6 separate regions of the Homo sapiens genome follow, and regions 1, 2, 3, 5 and 6 are each linked to region 4. Evidence: promoter capture Hi-C in 16 types of primary human blood cells and fetal thymus (Javierre and others, 2016). All regions are on one chromosome and are shown on one strand. Each heading gives the region's core, a stretch centred on a gene start or on the middle of the fragment in contact. The rest is flanking DNA. Distances are from core to core; before and after follow the strand shown.

What was found. The method cuts DNA at HindIII sites, captures the fragments that hold promoters and counts their contacts. A CHiCAGO score of 5 or more calls a contact.
Region 1: a fragment that was not itself captured here is called in contact with the fragment with the promoter of ADRA1B in region 4 in 3 of 17 cell types (endothelial precursors, megakaryocytes and M1 macrophages); the score reaches 7.1 in endothelial precursors.
Region 2: a contact is called between a fragment that was not itself captured here and the fragment with the promoter of ADRA1B in region 4, in 1 of 17 cell types (megakaryocytes). The highest score is 5.5, in megakaryocytes.
Region 3: a contact is called between a fragment that was not itself captured here and the fragment with the promoter of ADRA1B in region 4, in 1 of 17 cell types (megakaryocytes). The highest score is 11.8, in megakaryocytes.
Region 5: a fragment that was not itself captured here is called in contact with the fragment with the promoter of ADRA1B in region 4 in 2 of 17 cell types (M1 macrophages and megakaryocytes); the score reaches 5.8 in M1 macrophages.
Region 6: a contact is called between a fragment that was not itself captured here and the fragment with the promoter of ADRA1B in region 4, in 2 of 17 cell types (M2 macrophages and megakaryocytes). The highest score is 6.5, in M2 macrophages.

What each region holds. Positions count from the first base shown.
Region 1 is chr5:159,584,519-159,588,582 of GRCh38, reverse strand. It overlaps LOC105377684 (a long non-coding RNA gene), which reads right to left. Exons shown (of 20, transcript XR_941139.3): 15 at 2,669-2,842; 16 at 1,657-1,717. Among named protein-coding and RNA genes, the nearest start is that of LINC01845, 120 kb to the right of the region's middle. The HindIII fragment of the contact is 4,838 bases long and covers 148-4,064 here.
Region 2 is chr5:159,620,741-159,624,517 of GRCh38, reverse strand. The region is part of intron 19 of LOC105377684 (a long non-coding RNA gene); the gene reads right to left. Among named protein-coding and RNA genes, the nearest start is that of LINC01845, 160 kb to the right of the region's middle. The HindIII fragment of the contact is 260 bases long and covers 1,779-2,038 here.
Region 3 is chr5:159,636,838-159,640,310 of GRCh38, reverse strand. No RefSeq gene overlaps it. Among named protein-coding and RNA genes, the nearest start is that of LINC01845, 170 kb to the right of the region's middle. The HindIII fragment of the contact is 2,798 bases long and covers 162-2,959 here.
Region 4 is chr5:159,914,469-159,918,330 of GRCh38, reverse strand. ADRA1B (adrenoceptor alpha 1B) reads right to left here and starts at 1,849. Exons shown (of 2, transcript NM_000679.4): 1 at 477-1,849. The coding sequence starts at 1,425. RefSeq lists enhancers at 659-1,275, 1,276-1,892 and a silencer at 1,956-2,015. The HindIII fragment of the contact is 3,740 bases long and covers 1-3,589 here.
Region 5 is chr5:159,657,512-159,661,578 of GRCh38, reverse strand. No RefSeq gene overlaps it. Among named protein-coding and RNA genes, the nearest start is that of LINC01845, 190 kb to the right of the region's middle. The HindIII fragment of the contact is 844 bases long and covers 1,999-2,842 here.
Region 6 is chr5:159,601,720-159,605,573 of GRCh38, reverse strand. The region is part of intron 16 of LOC105377684 (a long non-coding RNA gene); the gene reads right to left. Among named protein-coding and RNA genes, the nearest start is that of LINC01845, 140 kb to the right of the region's middle. The HindIII fragment of the contact is 4,203 bases long and covers 1-3,854 here.

The sequences.
Region 1 (4,064 bases), core at 1,317-3,816, 330 kb after region 4:
GCACATACCTACCCATATGTATATAATTTTACATAAAAATTCAGGAGTTCCAGATGCCCCCTTTATCTCATCCATTGATCCCAAGCTGGGGAGCCTTTTATAGTAAAGATAATAATCATCATCTATAAAGCCACTTCTTCCCAAGCTTCCATTAACTAATATTCTCTGCCTTGACATCATTAGGTCAGTGCTAATTTCTTTATGCCTCTTTTCCCAGTTTTCTTCTATCATTACAAGACACTCAACATTCCCACACCACTCCTTATGTCCCAGACTGCAATCCTCATGCAGCTCAGGGGCAGCAGGAAAATGACCCCTGCTCACTCTGCCATTACCTAGCGCTGTTGCCCAGCTTCATTTTTTCCAAAGTACTCAACACCACTTCATATCAGTTGCGTTTTACTTGCTTGACCCCGTTAGATATAAAGGTAGGGATTCCTGTCTGTTTGTGCACTGCTTTTTCATAAGTACGTAAAAATGGTGCTTGACATGTAACAGGCACTTCATAAATGTTTTTTGAATGAAAACCTGATGAATGGAAAACTAACAGTTATTGAGCTCCTACTATGTGCCAGGCATGCAAGTACTTTTACATACACTATTTCATTTTATCTTTGCAACAGCCTAATGATGGAAGGACTATTATTACTTTCAGTTTACAGACAAGGAGGCTGAGACTTACAGAGGTTATGGAAGGTTCCCAAAGACACAGAGCCAATGAATGGTGGAGCCAAGATTTAGACCCAACCATCTCACTCCAACATCTATGCTCTTAAGTACTGAAGTCTTACTGTAGTTTGAAGTCATTACATGAAATATTCTTAAGTCATGGGTTATTCTGTATCACAGATGGGACGTCTTGACTTCTGTTTTCTTTCTTTTCCCGGGCTGTTTTCTGTTTTCCTAACAGATTAAGAAATAGGCCAGGTGTGGTGGCTCAAACCTGTAATCCCAGCATTTTGGGAGGCTGAGGTGGGCCGATCACAAGGTCAGGAGATTGAGACCATCCTGGCCAATATGGTGAAACCTCGTCTCTACTAAAAACACAAAAAATAGCTGGGTGTGGTGGCGTGCACCTGTAGTCCCAGCTACTTGGAAGGCTGAGGCAGGAGAATCGCTTGAATTTGGGAGGCGGAGGTTGAAGTGAGCTGAGATTGTGCCACTGCACTCCAGCCTGGTGACAGAGCAAGATTCTGTCTCAAAAAAAAAAAAAGAAAGAAAGAAAGAAAGAAAGAAACCTTACCTGTTACCAGTTTCTCACAAATACACACACATACATACCCCATTTCTTTTCATAGCAAAATTGTAATGAGATTTGGAACACTGGACCTTGAAATATTTTATTAGAACAAGCATCTCCATGAAACTACACACCATTACTCACTTTCTACCACCCCCGCACAAACGATATCCATTTGATTGCAAGTCAGGTTGAAGAAACCCAGTGGTTGCAATTGAGCATTCACAGCATGTTTGGAATATAAGCCGAGGAGCCCAGCACACACTCAGAATGATGCATTGTGCCTGCGAGCCTGCAACAGCACATTCATTTCTCATTCATGAGGAGAATGGGACACTTCTAGAATGGGTCTGGGGCAGGTGACTGGGGTTGGACCGAAAGGCAAGCAAGTTGTCAACTTGAAAGGACAGACTCACCTTCTAAAATAGAGTTCTCACTGCCTCTAAGACGCTGCTGGTGGGGTAGAGATGTGAGTGCCTAAATCGCCAAGCAGAAGAAAAAAATCGTGCATGCAAAATCTGCATTAACCTCCACATTCTCATAAATACCAACCATGTATGTGCCAAGTAGTCATCCCTTGCTTATTTGTATTAGTGCGATTACTGAAGGTTCAAATTGAAATGAGCCCTTTCTCTTTTCCCCGAAGTCCTGGGGGGGGCTTGAAAGGGCCACATTAAGAAATTAAAAGTTTCTGATAAAATTCACTCATTTGATATTCATAGACATGCCAAGAATTGAGAAATAAAAGAGGAGAAGAGAAAAGGAAAGAAAACCAGAGCTCTCATTCTCCTGGGGCTGTACTTAAAGTACAGCAGTTATGCTTTCTAAGGAGCATAATGTTAGGACATTAGTGCTGAATCAGAGCGAGAGCTGTCATGCTGCTGAGCCATCCAAAAGGACCGGAGATGCAGAAGTAGATGCCCCAAAGCATCTTAGCTGCATCAAGTCTGATGACAGCATTTTTTTAGTAGGACCTCAGAAGTTGTGTGCCTCTCACTGGTCCTAGAATCTGGGATGCTCGCTTAAATGCAGATTCCTGGGTCTCCTCCTGTGTTTAAGAAATTAGAATAACTGAGAGCGGGGCCCAGGAATGTGCATTTTAACAATCTCCCCAGCAGAATCTGATGCTCACCTTCATTTGTTCCCTGGCCTAGTGAGCACTGCTCTAGATCTCTAGGCCTACAATTGAGATTAAAGGGTTCAGCTTGTTACTCTATATTCTTTTAACTTTGGTGATTTTTCTCATTGTGCTAGTTTAAAACCATCTACTCAGGAGTTAGTAGAGATTTTATTAAGAGCTTGGGATTCACAAATTTTTTTTTAAAAAAAAAGGTAAAAATCTGCACTTAGTATTTACAACAACCTTGGACAAGTTACTTAGTTCTTTAAGCCTCAGGCAAGTCGTGTTAGATGTGGAGTGATACTTACCTGTTGGTGTTGCTGAAGGAATTAAATGTGATAAAGCCTGTAAGGTGTTTAGTCTAGTGACTGGCATGAAATAAAATAATGATGAGGTGGCAGTGGTGGTGACACAGAGGCCCAGAGCTGGGGTGAGGGGGGCTGACAGATTCATGAGGAGTCCTGGTCTTCAGAATCTGAGAACTTGGCAAAATAAGAAAAGGGATGAGTAAGTTCATGTGAGGATGTTTGTCAGGGACAAAGAAAGCACCCTAGCTCTAGCAGCTCTACAAAATATATCCTTAGAACAAATCCAGCCTGCTCTCTGTTTGTAAATAAAGTTTTGTTAGCACACAGCCACACCTATTTGATTATACATGGTCTATGGCTACTTTTAAGCGGCAATGGCTGGGTTGAGTTGCAAGAGAGATCGTCTGGCCTAAAGAGCCTAAAAAAAAAAAAAGTCTGTCAATCCCTACCCTTAGTAAACTGCCAGGAGGGGCTTTTATTTTACACAGGAAGAGGGGCCCAAGAGAAGAAACTGAATCATGAGGAAAACAAAGGTGCCAGCTATGCTGTCTTGTGCTGCCCAGCAACACTCCACATACACACACTCACACACACAATACACCCCTCCATCACAATCCCCACGTGCCCGGGAGACTTCAAGGATTTGTCCAGTGTTCTCCTTCTGAGGGTTTCTCAGGACACCCATCTTCTAGCCTGGCCAAGGGGAAGGGGCATGAGGGTGAAAGCCATTATACTTAAACCCAAGCCTGGCCCTGCCACTAGCCAGCTCTGCAACCCTGGGCAAGTCATTTTATCTTTCTGAGCTTCAAGGTCCTCATTTGTAAAATGAGGAGTTTGGAGTTGTTTGAGCCATTTACTAATGCTACACATAGCCTAAGTTCAGGCCTCCACTGCAGGGTTATCAGTCTCAGTGTGTCTGTCAGAAATCAAGGAGTAGAGAGGTAAGAAGTTGATTTGGTTACTGGATATCTCTTGGTCCCTTTCCACATCAAGTTTCAGGCTTATACACTGGGAGTGGCATCCTTAATCTCTATCCAGTTTTGGATCTAGTGGCCAATAAATGAATGTCAATTTATATTATAAACTGAATTATGTCCCCTACCAGCACCCCCGCAAAATTCCTATCTTGAAGCCCTAACCTCTAATGTGATGGTATTTGGAGATATGGCTTTTAGGGAAGTAAGGTTAAATGAGGTTATAAGGTGTCCTAATCTGATGGAATTAGTGTCCTTACAAGAACAGGATACACTAGAGAACCCTCTCTCTCTGTGAGAGCCGTGTTAGAACAAAGCAAGAAGGTGGACATCTACAACTCAGGAAGAGGGGCCAGAGCAGAAACTGAACATGCTGGCACCTTGGTCTCAGACTTTCAGCCTCCAGAACTGTGAGAAAACAA
Region 2 (3,777 bases), core at 659-3,158, 290 kb after region 4:
TCTGGGGTTTAAATACCTCCGGAGGTTTCCCATTGATTATTTGGTGTATGCTCTATGTAAATGAAGAGGCTGAAGTGAAGTTAGAAAGTTATGTACTTGGTGTATACCCTATGCAAATGAAGAGAATGTTTCCTGTCATAGCTGAAATAGAGTTACAAAGTTATTTACCTGGTTGTAGAAAGTTGGGGTTTTTCCATTTGCTTTAGTTCTAGGAAATCCTTGGGTTCCCTGCCCCAGACCCTATGCTCCTGCCTCAAGTTCAAAGAATTTTTAAATTTCCATTTCAATTCCATTGTTGACCTAAAGGTCATTCAGGAGCAGATTATAATTTCCATGTATTTTTATAGTTTTGAGGTTTCTTTTGGAGTTAATTTTCACCTTTATTTCACTGTGGCCTGAGAGAATACTTGATGTAATTTTGATTTTCTTAAATTTATTAAGACTTGTTTTTTGGCCTATATTATGGTCTATCCTGGAGAATTTCCATGTGCTGATGAAAAGAATGTATATTCTGCAGTTGTTGGATAGAACGTTCTGTAAATATCTGTTAAGTCCATTTGTTTTAGAGTATAGTTTAAGTCCACTGTTTCTTTGTTGACTTTCTGTCTTGATGACCTATTGAGTGCTGTCAGTGACGTACTGAAGTCCCCCACTATTTCTGTGTTGCTCTATCTCATTTATTAGGTCTAGAAGTAACTGTTCTATAAATTTGGGAGCTCCAGTGTTAGATGCATATCTATTTAGGATTGTGATATTTTCCTGTTGGACTAATCCTTTTATCATTATATAATGTCCCTGTTTGTCTTTTTTAACTGTTGTTGCTTTAAAGTCTGTCTTGTCTAATATAAAAATAGCTACTCCTGCTCACTTTTGGTTTCCATTTGCATGAAATATCTTTTTCCATCCCTTTATCTTAAGTTTGTGTGAGTCCTTATGAGTTAGGTGAGTCTGTTGAAGACAGCACATGCTTAGTGGATTTTTTATTCATTTTGCCATTTTGTATCTTTTAAAGGGAGCATTTAGGCCATTTACATTCAATGTTAGTATTGAGATGTGAGATGCTGTTCTATACATCATGCTATTGTTGCCTGAATACTTTTTGTTTTTTCATTTTGCTATTGTCTTATAGGCCGTGTGAGATTTATGCTTTAAGGAGGTTCTATTTTGGTGTATTTGAGGCTTTGTTTCAAGAGTTAGAACTCCTTTTAGCATTTCTTGTAGTGCTGGCTTTGTAGTGGTGAATTCTCTCAGCATTTGTTTGTCTGAAAAAGACTTTCTGTCTCCTTCGTTTATTAAGCTTAGTTTCACTGGCTACAAAATTATTGGCTTATAATTGTTTTGTTTAAGGAGGCTAAAGATAGGACCCTAATCCCTTCTGGCTTGTAGAGTTTCTGCTGAGAAATCTGCTGTTAATATGATTGATTTTCCTTTATAGTTTTCCTGATGCTTTTGCCTCACAGCTCTTAAGATTCTTTCCTTCCTCTTGACTTTAGATAACCTGATGACTATGTGCCTAGGTGATGATCTTTTTGCAATGAATTTCCCAGGTGTTCTTTGAGTTTCTTGTGTTCGGATGTCTAGACCTCTAGCAAGACGGGGAAGTTTTCTTCGATTATTCTCTCAAATAAGTTTGCCAAACTTTTAGATTTCTCTTTTTTCTCAGGAGCACCAATTATTCTTATGTTTGGTCACTTAACATTATCCCAAATTTCTTGGAGCCTTTGTTCATTTAAACTTTTTTTCCTTTGTCTTTGTCAGATTTGGTTAATTCAAAAGCTTTTTGAATTAACCTTCAAGCTCTGAAGTTCTTTCTTCTACTTGTTTGATATTATTGTTGAAACTTTCCAGTGTATTTTGCATTTCTTTAAGTAGGCCTTTCATTTCCAGAAGTTTTGATTGTCTTTTCTTTTTTTTGATATCTATTTCTCTGGAGGCTTTTCATCCAAATTCTATATTTTTTAAAAATTTCTTTACGTTGGTTTTCACCTTTCTCTGGTATCTTCTTGATAATATGGAGAAAACTTAATAATTAGAAGCTTTTAAGAATTCAGAAGGTTGATTATTAAGCTTCTGAATCCAGAAACTTAATAATCAACCTTCTGAATTCTTTATCTGGCTGTTCAGAGATTTCTTCTTGGTTTGGATCCATTGCTGGAGAGCTAGTGTAATTTTTGGGGGGATGTTGTAGAACCTTGTTTTGTCATATTACCAGAATTACTTTCCTGGTTCCTTCTCATTTGGATAGACTGTTTCAGTGGAAAGATCTGCAACTCAAGGCTGCTGCTCAGATTCTTTTGTCCCATGGCTGATCCCTTGATGTGTCTTCCCCTAGGGATGGGTCTTCCTGAGAGCTAGACTGCAGTGATTGTTATTGCCCTTCTGGGTATAGCCACCCTGCCAGGCTACCAAGTTTTGGGTTGGTGCTGAAGAATGTTTGCAGAGAGTCCTATGATGTGATCTGTCTTTGGGTCTCTCAGCCATGGATTCCAGCACCTTCTCTGGTGGAGGTGGCCGGAGAGTGAAGTGGACTCTGTGGGAGTCCTCAGTTGTAGTTTTGTGTAGTGCAGTAGTTTTCTGGAATGCTTGTTATGCTAGCAGTGAAGTGGTCACATGGACAGACTTAGGACCTCTGGTTCACCAGGGTGTTGCAGGCAGTGGAATGAGCTGTCGTTTTCTCCTTCTTTGGAGCAGGGTTGTTCTGTCCTGAGTTGCTGTCATGGCTTGAGTTGGTTGACCTCCAGCCAAAAGGTAGGGCTTTCAAGAGAGCATCATCTGTGGTAGTATAGAGGGGATACAAGCTTACCCTAAGATGCCTGGATAAGTATTTGGGTTTCTTAGGCAATGAGAGGGGCCACAGAGCTTCCATGAGTTTATATATTTTGTCTTCAGCTAGTAGGGTGGATAGAGAAAGACCATCAGGTGGGGGCAGGGTTAGGCATGTCTGAGCTCAGACTCTCCATGGGTGGGGCTTGCTGTGATCACTGTGGGGGATGGGGGCCAGTTCTCAGGCCAGTGAAATTGTGTTCCCGAGGGGATTATGGCTATCTCTGCTGTGTAATACAGGTCACCAGGAAGGTGGAGGAAAGCTGGAAGTGACAGGCCTCACCCAGCTCTCACACAGCCAGAAAGGCCTATCTCACTCCCACTGTGCCCCACCAACAGCACAAAGTTTATATCTGTGCTCACCAGACAGCTGGTGAGCAGGGCTGAGATCTTGCCCCAGGCTATGAGCCTCCCTGATGAGAAAGCAAGCAGGGCTCTCACACCTTGCCCCTCCCTGCCTGCCCACATAGTCAGCTGTACTTCTGCACTCGTATCAGTATTTCCCATTTGTACCCCCACCCTTGCCCCAAGATTCTGCTCGGAAAATTCATGCTCAGTCACAATTATTAGAGTTCAACTAGGAGCTTCCTTCATTCTGTGGCTCCTCCTCAATTCCACTGGCTGCCTTCCATACGAGCCCTGTGAGATAATGCTGGAAATAGCTTCCCTAGGCTCAAACTGGGGACCAGGAGTACCTACAGGGCTCTTCTCACTGCTTCTTCTACTGTTATATTTTGTTCAACTCCCTAAATCCATGTCAGCTTTATGTAAGGTTAAATCCTTCTCCCATGATCTGGATTGTCAGGTTCCCCAGTGGGAATGTGTGTACGGAGGCAGACATTTCCCCCTCACACTTTGGGAACTCAGTTTTTAGGCTGTCTTGGGAAGTTTGCAGTGGCAGGCCACTTCTTTCAAAGAGTCTGTTAACTCTTTCAGTTTTCCTGGTGTGTTTCA
Region 3 (3,473 bases), core at 311-2,810, 280 kb after region 4:
GCTTGCTGAAAGGATTAAGTTGGATAATACATCTAAGGCATCTAGCACACCTCTTGTCTTATAAGAGATGCTTAAGTGCTCTATGTTTTAAAGATAGTATTTCCTCAAAAGAATTTAACCACAGAATTAAGCTTTCATTCTGAGAAATATTTTAGAAAGCTTTGGAGAGCACTCTGAGCCGCTCACTTACTAGAGTCTAACTTTACTTATCTGTGACACACAGAACCTATCTAACTCCTTGGGAGACTCTAAGAATGGGATTGGATAGAAGGGAAAATAGCTCAGGGAAAAGAACATTACATGGCATTTGTGGCATACACTGTGAGGAGCCCAACCAACAGCCATTCTCAACTTCCTCCCTAATAGAATCCTGATTTTGTTCAAGGAAGTACTTTTTCCGTTTCAAGAACTAGATCATGGTTGTTTTAAGCCAATCTTAGCAGCCTTTCACTTTTACTAATCAGGTTTTTCTCCAGCTTTACTCATATTTAGGGATGGCTGTGAGACCCAGTTCAGTCTAGTCGTATACAGTTGACCCTTGAACAGCACAAGTTTGAACTGTTTGTCCACTTATACATGGATATTCTCCTGACTCTGCCCCAGGAGAAAGCAAGCCAACTCTCTTCTTCTTCCTCCTGCTTGGCCTACTCGGTGTGGCAATGATGAGGATGAAGACCTATATGATGATCCACTTCCACTTAATGAATAGTAAATATATTTTCTCTTATGATTTTCTTAATGACGTCTTATTTTTCTCTTGCTTTATCATAAGAATATAGTATTTAATACATATAACATAGAAAATATGTGTTAAATAACTATTTATGTTATTGGTAACACTTCTGGTCAATAGTAGGTTATTTGCAGTTAAGTTTTTGGGGAGTTGAAGGTTATACACAAATTTTCAACTGCATGGAGATTAGTGCCTCTCACCCCCATGTTGTTCAAGGGTCAACTATATATGCAAAAGTCTGCCAAGAGTCTTTGGGGAAAAAAATTTGTTGTGTTTTTTTACATAAAAGATACCAATGAATGAAGAGTTTATTTGTGTTATCTCTTCTTTCTTCCTGCCTTGAACACAGATGTGATGTCTAGGGCTGTAGCTTCCGTTTTATGATAACAAGGCAATGAGCATGAGGACAAAACTCCAACAGTTAAGGATGACGAAATAAGTAGAAATATGTTAAATCTTTAGTGCCATTGTTGAGCTGATGAAACAGCCCAGGAACTGCCTACATGCAGGCTTCTTGCTAGGTGAGATAATAAATGACTTTATTGTCTCAGCCACTGTTCATCTGATATTCTATTATTTATGGACAAAAACATCCTAACTGAAACAACACAAATATGAGAGCTAATTATTATAACTTTTCTCTAGGAATTCCTTTTAATTTAAAGTTGTGAGTGTCTACAAATTGTGGCTTGACAATTGTAAATTATTGAGGGTGTGCTTGAGACATCCTAGGAATTCTTAACATGAATGGATATGAGGAAAGAAATACTGTTTCTTCCAAGAAAGTCTGAAAAACCAACAAAAATTAATTTTCTTCATATTATTTTTCTTCACATCATCTATGTTCTTTCCCTATAATTTTCTGAGGCCAAGGGCCATTGTGCAAAATGATATGTACATTACAGTTGTTGTTTTCTCTGAATTTTTCAGAAAAATTTTTATTTCTGCCAGCTCCTCTCCATGCAGCTGACTTCTCAAGCTGCATGCACACTAGCATGAGATGTATACTTATAGAAGAGGCTTACTTTCCTGGGAAGTGTGTTTGTGAATCAGAAATGGAGGCAGAACTGCATTGAAAATAGAAATTTTCCTTGTTTTGACTGAAAATTAGATTTCCTGGATTTTATGTTATTAGATTCAGGTTGCTAGTATTTAGTTGAGAATTTTACACCCCTATTCATGAGAGATATTCATCTCTTGTTTTCTCTTGTTGTGATGTCTTTGTATGGCTTTGATATTAGGGTAATACTGATCTTTTTCTTTAAAATCATTAAATAAATACTTAAATTTCTAGAAAATATTTAAAGTTTTGGAAACTTTTAAAGAGATAGTACTAATTCTCCTTTAAATGTTTAGTAGAATTCAGTAGGAAAGCCACCTGGACCTGGGCTTAACTTTGTAGGTAGGTTTTTATTATTTTTATTATTAATTTGATCTTTTGACTTATTATTATAGGTCTAGTCAGATTGTCTAATTCTTGAGTAAGTTTCAGTTATTTCAGTCTTTCTAGAAATTTCTCTATTTAATCTAAGTTATCTAATTTATTGGCATACAATGATTTATAATATTTCTTTATAATCTTTTTTAGTTTTCCAAGGTGAGTATTGATATCCTTTCATTTCTGATTCTAGTATCTGAGTCTTCTTGTTTTCTTGGTCAACCTAGCTAAAAGTATGTCAATTTGGTTGACATTTTAAGACAACTAGATTGGCATCATCACTTTTTCTCCATTGTTTTTCTGTTCTCTACTTTATTAATTTCAACTGTGATTTTTATTATTATCTTTCTGCTATTTTCTGTAGGTTTAGTTTGTACTTCTTTTTCTTAGTGTCTTAAAGTAAAAAGATAGGTTATAGATTTAAGATTTTTTTTCTCTCTCAACATAGGCATTTACAACTATAAGTTTTCCTCTGAACATTGCTTTAGCTGCATCCCATAAGTTTTAGTATGTTTTGTCTTAATCTCATTCATCTTGAAGTATTTTCTGATTTTCCTTTTGATTCTTTTTTAATCCACTGGTTATGTAGGAGTATATTTTTTAATTTCCACTTACCGTGAGTTTCCTAAATTTTTTCCATTATTAATTTCTCATTTCACATGGCATGTGATCTATCTTGGAGTACATTCCTTATACACTTGAGAATAATGTACATTCTGTTGTTTTTGAGTAGACTATTCTGTAGATGTCTATTAAGTCTAGTTGGTTTGTAATATTGTTAGGAAGCTTCTATTTCCTGTTGATTTTCTGCTTAGTTGTTCTATCCATTGTTAAAATGAAGTATTAAAGTTTCCAACTATTATTGTTGAATTATTTATTTCTGCCTTTTTTTGTCAGTTTTTGCTTCATGTATTTTGTGTTGTATTATCAGGGGCATATATGTTTATGATTGATATATTTCCCTGAAGGATTGACTCATTTATCATTATAAAATATTTCTGTTTGTCTTTAGTAACATTTCTCATTTTAGCATCTATTTTGTCTGATATTCATATAGCTACTTCAGCTTTCTTGTGGTTGCTGTTTGCATTGTATATTTTTTCCATTCTTTTTCTTTTGATTTCTTTGTATCTTTGAATCCATAATGTGCCTCCTGTAGATAGCCCATACTTGGATCTTGTTTTTTATTCAGTCTGACAATCTTTGCCTTTTGATTAGATTCTTTAATAAATTTACAGTCTTATTGATATAATTGGATTTATGTCTGGCATTTTACTTTTTATTTTCTATGTGTCTTGTGTT
Region 4 (3,862 bases), core at 600-3,099:
CTCTAGCCCTGGAAATGCTGAATGAATGCTGCCTTTCTGTGTACGAGCTGCCTCCCTGCTTCCCAAATGCCGCGTCTGCAGTAACTACAAACTATTTTGTATGCTGCATTAGTGACGCTGCCTTAGCCGACACATCATTACTACTGAAATAACGCCGGTGTGATATTCAAGCCCAGTGAATATCCTTTTTAATTATTAAACCGAGGCTGTTGAGTGAGTCATTCCTCATACCAGATTTTCCTTCCCTGGTTCTATTTCCAGAAGCTAGTGCCTTAGCGTGTTCTACTAACACCTGAGTTGGTTTTTAGCCAGCTCCCCAATCTGCAAACCCTTTGCAGAACAAACAATATTATTCAATCTCCGAACACGCACAGACTGCATAAGAAACAAAACCCACAAAAAACTTTAGAGTAAGCTCATCAGTAAACCCAAGGTCCAAAAATGCCCAGTCCCCCTGCTGCTAGTCCCCAACTTACCAAGCGGTAGAGCGATGAAGAAGGGTAGCCAGCACAAGATGAACATACCGACCACAATGCCCAACGTCTTAGCTGCTTTCTTTTCCCTGGAGAACTTAAAAAGTTTGACAGCTATGGAACTCCTGGGGTTGTGGCCCTTGGCCTTGGTACTGCTAAGGGTGTCCTCGTGAAAGTTCTTGGAATGGATCCTCAGGGTCAGCTCCTTGGAGTTGGACATCTCCTTCATGACTCCTGCCTCTAGGTTCTTGGTGGTTCTCTTGGCCACTATATAGACACGGCAGTACATGACTAGAATGACCGCCAGAGGGATGTAGAAGGAGCCCAGAGAGGAGAAGAGGGCATAGAAGGGTTCTTCGGTGACCCCGCACTCCTTGTCATCGTTGGGTGCCGGCTCCTTCCACCCAAGGAGAGGCCCGATGGAGATGACGGTGGACAAGACCCAGACACTGAGCAGCGCCAAGATGGCCTTCCTCCGGGTGACCAGCGTGGGATACTGCAGAGAGTAGCGCACCCCGATGTAGCGATCGATGGAGATGGCGCACAGGCTCAGAATGGACGCTGTGCAGCACAGGACATCCACGGCTGCCCAGATGTCACAGAAGATCCGCCCCAGCACCCAGTAGCCGAGCACCTCTAGGGCCGCTGAGAAGGGCAGGACGGTGAAGCTCAACAGCAGGTCGGCCATGGCCAGGTTGACAATGAAGTAGTTGGTGGGCGTCCGCAGGTGCCGGTTGCAGGCCACAGACAAGATGACTAGGATGTTGCCCACGATGGCAAAGAGGATGAAGGCGCCCAGCACCAGGCCCACAGAGATGGCCCTGGTGATGTCCAGCTGGGGCAGTGTGGAGTTGCTCGAGGTCTGGTTGGGGCCAGTGAAGTTGGCATTTTTCAACTCTCCCCAGTGGGCAGGTGCTGATGTGTTGTGGCCGGTGTCCAGGTCGGGATTCATCTTAGAGTCCGCCCTCCATAGCCAGGGGGATGATTGGGCTCGGAAGGGCTGCGGCGAAGGCTCCTCAGCTGCCCTGAAACTTTGCTTCCCCCGTGGTCTTCTTCCCAGAGGCGCCCTCCTGGCGAGGAGTCATCTCCCCCGGGCAGCCCAGCCCGGCAGCACGTCTCCTGCCTGCACCGAGTCGCTCGCTCGCCTGTCAGAGGGAGGAGGAGGAGGAGAGGGGACGAGGCGGCAGCTCCAAGTTTAATGGTCCACGTCAGGCGCGCCTGGCCGGGCTCGCGGGGGAGCGGCGGGGAGGAGGGGGCGGCAGGGCCGGGGGCGCCCGGCGGTGCCCAGCTCGCTCGGGTCTGCGGACCGCGGCGCGTCCTCCGCCCAGCGAGCGCCGAAGAGGGTCTGCTTTCAATGAGCCGCTTCTGGGCTGACTGCACGGCGGTGACATCAGGCGGGGGAGCCCGGCGCCCTGACTCCGCGCGGCACTAGGGGGCAATGCGGGTCCAGCCAAGGCGCCCGCAGCCCCGACGCCGCCACCCCGCAAGCCGGGAAGCCAGCCGCGTCCCCCGCCGCTCCCAGGGCGCGCCCTCTGCGGGGGGCGGGGCGGGGGCAGGGGCCGCGAGGGCGGGACCTGGGCGTGGAGATCGCGGGTCACCCACCCCTAGGCGGCCCGCTGGGGTTATTTTCCCCGCTAGTCACTCTTCCGTGTCAAAGGTGGGTTGGGGGCTGCTTACCTTTAATAGGGGGCTCCCGGAGTGGGCCCCGGATTTAACGGGATATGCAACTTGTCCAGCACCTAAAAGAGGGAAAGAGAATTCTAGGATTGGGCAGGTGGGAGGGACTTGAGTCGGATCTGAGGCCAGCCCTCATCCTTCATCTGGCTCCCCTCGCCCCGTGCAAACTCTTTGGCCCCAGTAAAATCTGGCTTCTCTTCATCCTTTCATTCGCTCAGGCATTCACTCATTTATTCAGCCGATTCTTACGGAGTCTCCACTCTCTGCCCTGGCTCTGGGCGCTGTGAACATAGCAACTGAACAAAATAGACGGACTCCTGCCCTATAGGAGCGTAGCTTCTCCCGACAGAAGACAGACAGTATACTAAATAAGCAAATGATGAGGTGTGTAATGTGATGACAGGTGTTAGGCTGAAAATAAAGTAAGGAGGGGGAAATGCAGTGGGGTGTTTGTGGGGTGGATTTGAAATGTTAAGTGGGTGCTTGGGATGTCACTGAAGTGATATTTGAGGAAACATGAAGGGAATTGAGGGAGGAAGCTAGCTGGCTATCTGGGAGTGGGGGTGAGGGAGGTCAGAGACCTGGGGAAGGGACGTAGAGGATCTTGGTTATTTGTTGAGTTTTTTCCTTTCTGTCTGATATCCATGTTGGACATTCAGTCACAGGGACGCACTCCCAAAGGTGGGTGAATGGTACTTAGAAGAGAAAGTATGGGCCAAGAAAGAAAGAAAGAAAAAGCCAAAGAACTTTATGTTAGTTCACATTTATCCAACATTTATTTTGTCCTAGACAGTGTGCTGAGTTCTTTTTGCATTTTCTCATGACTCTCATGAGAGAAAGAATACACTCTTCACCATTTCTATTTCATGGATGAGACACCAAATTATGGGGAAGTTTAGCTGTTCGCCCAAGTTCACAAAGGCATGGAGGAGAGCTGCTGGGAACTGAACTCAACTGTGGGGTCTCTCCCAAAGTTGGGTACTCAGCTACTGTGTCATACTTTTCCCCCGGGGCAAGGTAGGGGATGGAACCACTGTTATAGATGGAGCTGCCTTTTGAGTAGTTAATTTTGGGGCCTGAGCCACTGGTGCTGGGCAGGGACTCCCATGAATTGAGCGCTTACTGATAGCCATGCATTTACTCAGTTTCTTTGAGACTTTACAATTCTTTGAGAGAAGCATAACCATTGTTCATTGAGAGATGAGAAACAGTGGTTCAGAGAGAGTCAGTTGATTCCTGAGGTCATAGGCTAGCAAATATATGGCAGAGCAATGGGCAGTGGCAGCTGGAGATTGAAAAGTAAAGCCTGATACCTTCTTTTACTCCAGTTCACAAGCCTGCATCTTGGGTTTCTCACCTTCTGCTCTTGATACTTGTTATAACTTGATATTCACGGGTGGGGAAAACAGAAGTCACTCAGGATGACTTACATCTAAGCTTCTCAACCTAGAGGTAAGCTCTTAACCTCTTTTTATTTTTATTTTTTGAGAAGGGAGGCAGGTGGTTATCATACACGTATCGAAGGTTTTAATTTACTCCCAGCAAAGTGCACAGACTCCACACATGTGCAAAATACACAATTTCAGGGGGTTTCCCTCGGGTTAAGAAATCTGTGGTAGAGACAGTCCTGAAAATGGATTATTTTCTATTATAATTAAATTGCCCTAAGCTGTATTTGAAGATTTGATAATAAGAGATTCACAAGTTTATAG
Region 5 (4,067 bases), core at 1,171-3,670, 260 kb after region 4:
GAGTATGTGTGTGTATGTGCAAGATGGAGAGAGAGGGAAGGAGAAAGACGTTATGTGTGTATGTGAGCAGGACATATATGTGCACTGGCTGAAAGATTTGTGTGAACTAAGATCTTCAGGCCTTAATGGGGGTGGAAGAGAGGAAAGAAGAGGAAGGAAGCAAGCATGTGATAAGTCAATAATCCTGTTGCCTGTATAAGCAAAACATTTATATCCTCCCCCAACCTTGTCAACTTAGATCCCTGTCAGTTTAGAAAATTGATTATTTATTTGCATGGTGCAGAGCTCAAGTTTGCCTTTGATATAATCCAGAAAAACTGGGGTTACCAAATGCTGAACCATGGCCATCAGAATCCCTTGGGGGTCTTTGTTAAAAACAGAGATTCCTGGAAACAGCCCAGACCTACTAAATCTCTCTGGGTGGGGTCCTAGTGGTCCATAGTTTTAACCAGCTGGTCAGATGATTGTGCTGGGCAGCTGTGATTGACAACCACCACTTTAAATAAGTCAACTAGCAGTTAACTTGAAAAAGGATGTAAAATGTTCAGAAGAGCAAACGATTCATGTACCATTTATGCAATGCATATTCTACTTACATTTTCATTATATAGAAATATACAAGGCCCTTCATTTGATGCCAATTTTCGTGGGGGGTCATCTAATTAAGGAATATGCTTAAGGAAATGCAATGAATTATTCTTAAGTGTATGAATAACTATATATACCTATATGCCTAAGAATAATTCATTGAATTTCTTTAAGCATATTCCTTAATTAAGTCTCTTTAGTATTTTAGTGTTTTACTCTCAGTCTTTGATAAATAGCAAGGAGTAGTAATATGACAAACTAAAGCTAAGCATCTTCGAAAAATCATCAGTTATGGGTCCTATTCCCTTTCTCCTTACTTCCTGCCCTAGGTGAGCTCATCCAACTTCATTGCTTAAATACCATCTCTATGCCTATGACTCATACATTTTTATCTTTAGCCTGGGCCTCTCATCTGCACTTCAGGGTCATATATTCAACTGTCTCCCTGTCACCTTTACTTGGGAGTCTCACACGAATCTCAATTTGAAGAAGGACAAAAAGTACTGAATTCTTAAATCACCCACCCAAACTTCTTTTTACCCCAGTCCAAGTCTTCCTAATCTCAGCAAATGGGACCCAGCAGCTCAGGCCAAAAATCTGGGAGGGATCATTCTTGACCTCTCCTTCTTCCTAACTACCCCCTCCAACATTTAATGTATTTCTAAATCCTGTCAGTTTACCTCTCAAATCTGCCCATGACTCTCCATTGGTACTAATATGAACTTGATACAAGCCACCAACATCTGAATGTTTTACCTCTGTAAGCTACCTTCACCACAGTGGCCAGAGTGCTCTTTAAAAATTACATCAGAACATGCTCCTGCTTACAGTCCTCCAGGAGCTTTCCAGTGCACTCAGAATCTTATCCAAATCCCTTTCCAGGAGCTAGATTACAAGGTTCTGAATAAAATGGCCCTCCCTCCTCTTCCATCTCATCCAGGCCCTGTGTCCTCCCATCACCATCTTCCAATCAAACCGACCTTCCTCCAGGTCCTTGAACACCCCACATTTATCCCCACTGCAGGGCCATCACTTCTTTCCCCACCAACCCCAGGGTATGGAACCCCTCAACCAGCTAAACTTCTCCTCCAGATCTGAGCTAAACCTCATCCTCTCTGAGAGGTCTGCCCTGACCATCTAAGCCAGGAGTTGGCATATGTCTTCTATAAAGAGCCAGATAGTAAATATCTTAGGCTGTGCAGGCCATGAGGTCTCTGTCACAACTACCCATCTTCAACTCTGACATTGTAGCAAACACAGCCATAGAATATATGTAAATGAATGGACATGGTTCTGTTCCATTAAAACTTTATTTTCAATAGACAATGGCATGATTTGGCCCTCAGCTGTCACTCGCTGATCCCTGATTTAAACCAAAGTATGACTTCTCTGTTATTCCTACACAAAGCTTCTTATAAATCATAAATATGTGCCCACTGCTGTTTCTTGCATTAGTCTGCTAGATCTATGAGGGCAGGAAGGAACTTGGACTCTTAAGGATCTGCCAGAATATAGAGCCTGGTAAAGTGCTGACCATACAGTGAGGCCTCAGTAAACATATGTTGCATAAAGGAAGAAAAGGAGAGAGAAAGGAAGAAAGGAGGGGAAGATTCCTTCTTCAAGTACAGGTACTTTTTGTTAAAAGGCAGCAAACATTACTGGTTCTTTTTTGTCTTTTTTTCTTTTCTTTTTCTTTTTTTTTTTAGATGGAGTCTTGCTGTGTTTCCCAGGCTGGAGTGCAATGGTGCAATCTTGGCTCACTGCAAACTCTGCCTCCCGGGTTCAAATGATTCTCCTGCTTCAGCCTCCCGAATAGTTGGGGTTACAGGCACCCACCACCACACCCAGCTAATTTTTGTACTTTTAGTAGAGACAGGGTTTCACCATGTTGGCCAGGCTGGTCTCAAACTCCTGACCTCATGATCCACCCGCCTCAGCCTCCCAAAGTGTTGAGATCACAGGAGTGAGCTACCACGCCCGACCAACTGGCTCATATTTTTAACTCTTTCTCTTTGTCAGGAGAGTCCTAGGGTAAATGACTTATCCATTTACTGTTGTGTTCATTTCTTCATCCCTTCAGTGATGTGGTGTTTACTATCTCCCCTATATACTGAATACTGTGCTGGGGAAACAGATCCTGGCCAGGCCCTTCTGAGCATCTAGTCCTGAAAGCTGAGGGCTCTCCCCACTCTCTGTTCCCAGAGGCCTTTTATTGTGTTTTGTTGTTGTTGGGAGCCAAGGGAAAATTCAAGCTTTGTGAAGTGAAATTGAGAGGCACAAAGCAATTAGCAAAGAAGTCCCGCAGAGGCCCTCTCAATCCAGGAGCGAGCCCTGCCCTCTCCTTCCTGCCTCATTACTGTAAAACAGCCCTCAATGTAATTCTCCACTATGAATTTCTCCACCTTGGCAGATGAAAAGCGAGTAATTGGGTACCCCGAAAGTTTAGCAGCAGCATTCCTTTGAAAGAGACAAGACACCTCCCTGCGCATGCAAGTCCCACCTCACTTCTTCCTCCCCCAGTCTGCTCGCACCTCCCCGGCCTCCTCCAAACTGACTGCAACACCATCTACGAAGCTGAGAGCTGGGCAGTCATTAAAGATCATCAACTATAGAGCTCTTCACCAGGCAGGATTATGTTTAGCAGACAGCAAGACTGTTCCTGCCGGCTCCCGTTAAGTTTCATCAAAACTGTGCCTAATTAAAATCTTCAATTTAATTATGCTCCTCTGCATTACAAATTTTGATCAAATTGGTTTAATTTGGTACAAGGAGTTATGTTCATTTCACATGCAAAGTGAGCCCACCCTGAAGCTAGGCTCTGTGTCCCCAAAGCCTCTCAGGACCCTCTTGTACAATCAGGATTGCCCCCACCCTCCTGTGACCCCAGATTTGGAGAATCGCCCGAGGCTTGGGAAATTGGCAGTTGTTGCTCTGCCCACATCTGCAAGAGCTGTCCTGAAGCCACACTGAAGCTGACAGCTGTCTTCCCCCACCCACCTTCCCCTCCCAGCCTCCCTTTCCTCCTCTGCTTTTGAAACGCCCTCATCTCGGGAAAAATCGCACCCAATCTGTCAGTGAAATATGCTGTGGGATTGAAGCTCTGGCAATCTGTTTCCACTCAGGAGAGAAATCTCAGCCTGCTAGTGGCCCCGTGGAGAACTTCCCAAAGTCCTTCATTTACAGAATCCCAAAGCAAAGGGCTCCCTGATCACCCAGTCCCAGGCAGTTTCCCTGCCTTCTACCCATAGTCAACAGGCACTGCCAATGCTTGGCCTCCCAGCACTTCTTTATCCCTTCCTAGGTCCTTATCCCATCATATAGAGCCCCAAGACCTGAGATCACCCAGGTGACCCCTCCACCTTACACCCTCCTGGCAACCAGACCTTTCCAGGTGGTCTTACCCTCATCGAAACCCCCTGGTCTGGAGTTCCACTCCCTCTAGGGCTTCCCTTGCAAACCTTCCAGCTCATCTGATGGTG
Region 6 (3,854 bases), core at 819-3,318, 310 kb after region 4:
TGATTTGGGTCCTGAGGCTTTTTTTTTCAATAGTGAAGGTCAAGGCAAATGCCATGACACAGCCTGTCTTTCTATAATAAACAGCTGCTTTCCTAAGAAAAGTTGCACTAACAAAATTTGTCCTGTAATAATTTCTGTCATTTATTGACTGCTTATTATCTGTTAGACACTGTGCTGAGGTCTCACAAGATCATTTCATTGACTCCTCACAGCCCTAAAGATAAGCACTATTATGATCCTCATTTTACAAATGAAAAACTGAGGCCGAGTGCTTAGATGATTTTTACACTATTCTTGATGGTGCCTAGGTTCAAAGTCTAATTCAAATAAGTCTAATTCAGAGTGTTTTTTCCTAATCACTGTGCTCGACCACTTCTCATTGAAAACAAATAAAAAATTGTTGAAATGGAGAAAAAGAGTTTAGGAGTTAGAGAGTTTCTTTTATACAGTTTTATTACTTTTGCTGCTCATTATTAGTGCAAAATGAAAATAAATTATAGAACAGTTCACAACTACAAATGGTCGACAAAAGTAAACTCACACTGAGAAACCAACCACTCCTACAAGTAGCAGTGTGCTTCTGTGTTTTGGAAAACCAACTTTTCTTATTTAAGTGATGACAATTATACAGTGATTCTATCAGAACTCTAATGTTCTGCACAGTTAAAATTGAATGCCCTAATTGGTCAATGCCACTACATCTAGCTTGCATTCTGAAAATAAGCTATTGGAGAAATGCCTGTAAATCTAAGGTAGCTTTTTCAGCTATAAATAGGCCAGGATATATATATATATATATATATATATATATATATATATATATATATATATACAATTTTTTTTTTGAGACAAAGTATTACTCTGTCACTCAGGCTGGAGTGCAGTGGCACCATCATAGCTCACTGCAGCTTTGAACGCTTGGTCTCAAGTGTTCCTCCCACCTCAGCCTCCCAAGTAGCTGGGACTACAGGTGCAAGCCACTAGTTCCAGCTAGTGAATTTTTTTTTTTTTTTTTTTTTGTAGAGACAGGGTCTCACTATGTTGCCTAGGCTGGTCTTGAACTCCTGGCCTCATATGATCCTCCCATATTGGCCACCCAAAATGTTAGGATTACAGGCATGAGCTTCTGGGCTCAGCTACGTCAGATTTTTTAGGGAACCCCATGTTTATTTCTTGCCACATCTGAATTTTTAAGTTTCACATCATACGGAAAAAACCACTGAGCTCATTGTATTGGCTTTATTTTTTTTTTTTAACTAAATGTCTACAACCATCAGAGAACTGGGAGCATTGTGTCCTGGGAAAGAGCACAACCATGTAGCCTTTTCCTTATGTCTCATGTCTCATACTGCACTGGTAGACAGATGGATACTCAGTGTATCAGCAGATTTCTGCTGTAATAATTCTATGTAGCAACAACCCTCCTCCCAAACCTCAATAGCTAACAAAAAAAAAATTCAATTTAATGTTGATAGGGATATAGGCAGCCTGTGAATTGGCTTTGCTCAGCTGGGCTAAGCTAGACTCCAATCTGTGGTTTGGGTTTATGCCTGCTCCGTATGTCTTTATTCCAGGACTCAGGCTGAAAGAGTAATGATTACTGGGAACGTACGCCTTACTCAAAGGTAAAAAGTTTGAGACGCTTGACAGAAACTTGCTGTCTCTTAAAGTGTCTGCTCAGAATTGGTGTATTCTCATTTTACTTCTGCCTATATTCATTGGCCAAAAAAAGTCACATAGCCAAGTCCAAGTAAGTAAGTAGGGGCAGGTATGTATACTCTGTTTACTATTGTGACAGGCACTAGAAAGTATATGGCAGAGGTTGTGAGTGTATAATCCTTTATAGAAAGGAATAAAGAGTTGAGAACAATAATTCAATATAATCACACTGAATATTTCCTACAATATGTTCCTCATCCATTTTTTATAGGACCCATGATATTTTATTGCAATTGTGCTTATAGAAATACATAATTCTTCAGTAGACTGTGACTAGGTTTTCACCCATTTCCAGCCCCAAGGACCAGGGCACTGCTTCTCACATTAGTAGATATTCAATAAATATCCAAAGAACGAATGTATGAATAAATACACTTATAAGGCAGCGATTATGAACAAACAAATTATTTAATTCTCAAAATAAGATTATGCCAAGGCATCCTCTACTGGAAAGTTGATAAATTACTGGTATAGAAAGTAGTTATCTATAAGAAGTCTTATTTTGAAATGTTCCAACTTTGTATCATGTTATCCATTTGCTGGGTAATTATTTATTGAGCGTCAACTATGTGCCAGGTACAAGGGTATGAAAGTGAATAAGATAGACTCAATTACTGCCCTCACCAAGGTACTAGGCAAGAGAGACAAACAGGAAATGATCACATCCACGATTATGGAAGTGCAGGAGCACCTGATCCGTCCTGGGAGACCAGCAAAGTCTTCCTGGACACCATGACTTTTAAGCTAAGATCAAAACAGTAAGCAGAAAGAGAAGGGGAAGCAAGACGAACTTTCAAAACGGAGGAAACTATATGTGAGTAAGAAAAGACAAAGGTAAAACCCAGGTTCAGATTTAGGTAGCTGGGAGAATGGTGTTATGATGACATTTACTAAGAAGAAATATAGGAGGAAGAGAGTGTATGCGTTGGTTAGGGTGATGGGGTGGTGATGGGGTGGGTATGGGGATTTATTTATGAATACTGATGGCTTGGAGATACAAGTGGTACCTCCTGAAAAAGACACCCAGGTAGCAGTTGTATCTGAAAGTCTCAATTTCAGATGAGAGGTAGGAGCTGAAATATAAATTTGTGATTCATCCATATATATATGTGATATAATAAAGAATATATCTGGTCTTTATCCCAGTTCTTGGTGCAAAGATTTTGAAACCTTGAGTAATAACAATGTCTTTGTTATGCTAATGGGATGACTCATGCTGGGTTCCTAAATAGCTTTAGGATGGGGGCTGGTCACCAGGAAGACCAATCCCATGATTAGAGTGTTAGAACCTTAGGCTGCCAGCCCAATAATGTCCAGTGAGAGAAGTGAGGCTGGAGACTGAGCTCAACAACATGGCCAGTGATTTAATCAATCGTGATTTGATCAGTCATCGGTGATCTGATCCATCAACCATAATGAAGCCCCAGTAAAAACTCTGGAAACCAAGGCTCAAAGGAGCTTCCTGGTTGGTGAACAACTGATGTGCTGAGAGATAAATATGCCTGGATTCCTAGAGGAGAGGGCAGAGAAGCTCAGTGTCCTTCCCCTCCCAAGACCTTGTCTTATGTGCCTCTTCTGTTTAGCTGTTCCTGGGTTGTATCCTTTATAATAAAACTGTAATCATGTGAATAGCACTTTCAGAGAGTTTATGAGCTGTTCTAGCAAATTACTGAACCTGAGAGAGTCATAGAAACCCCTGAATTTGTAGCTGGTCAGTCAGTGGCTGACTGAGACTGACGTTTGGTGTCTGAAGTGGGGGCAATCTTGTGAAGGATGTTGTTCTTAACTTGTGGGGTCTGCGCTAACTCTGGGTAGTTAGTGTCAGAATTGAATTAAATTGCAAGACACCCAGTTGTCATCAGAGAATTGTTGTTGGAACAAGGCAGAAATTGAGATCATTGGCTGTTGATGAGTTCACCCATGGAAAGCATATGAAAAGATGATGTAGGGCAGAAACCCAAGAAATATGCGCATCTATGGAAATGTTTCCCAAAATGTCATTTCAATACCATTGGTGCTAAATTGAGTTTAGATTATATAGAAGTATACTTTTATTTAATGGCTATGTATTTATTTTAAATGTTTGAGCCATATTTTTCATATATGGCAAATTGTACTGTTTTTTCCATTAATAA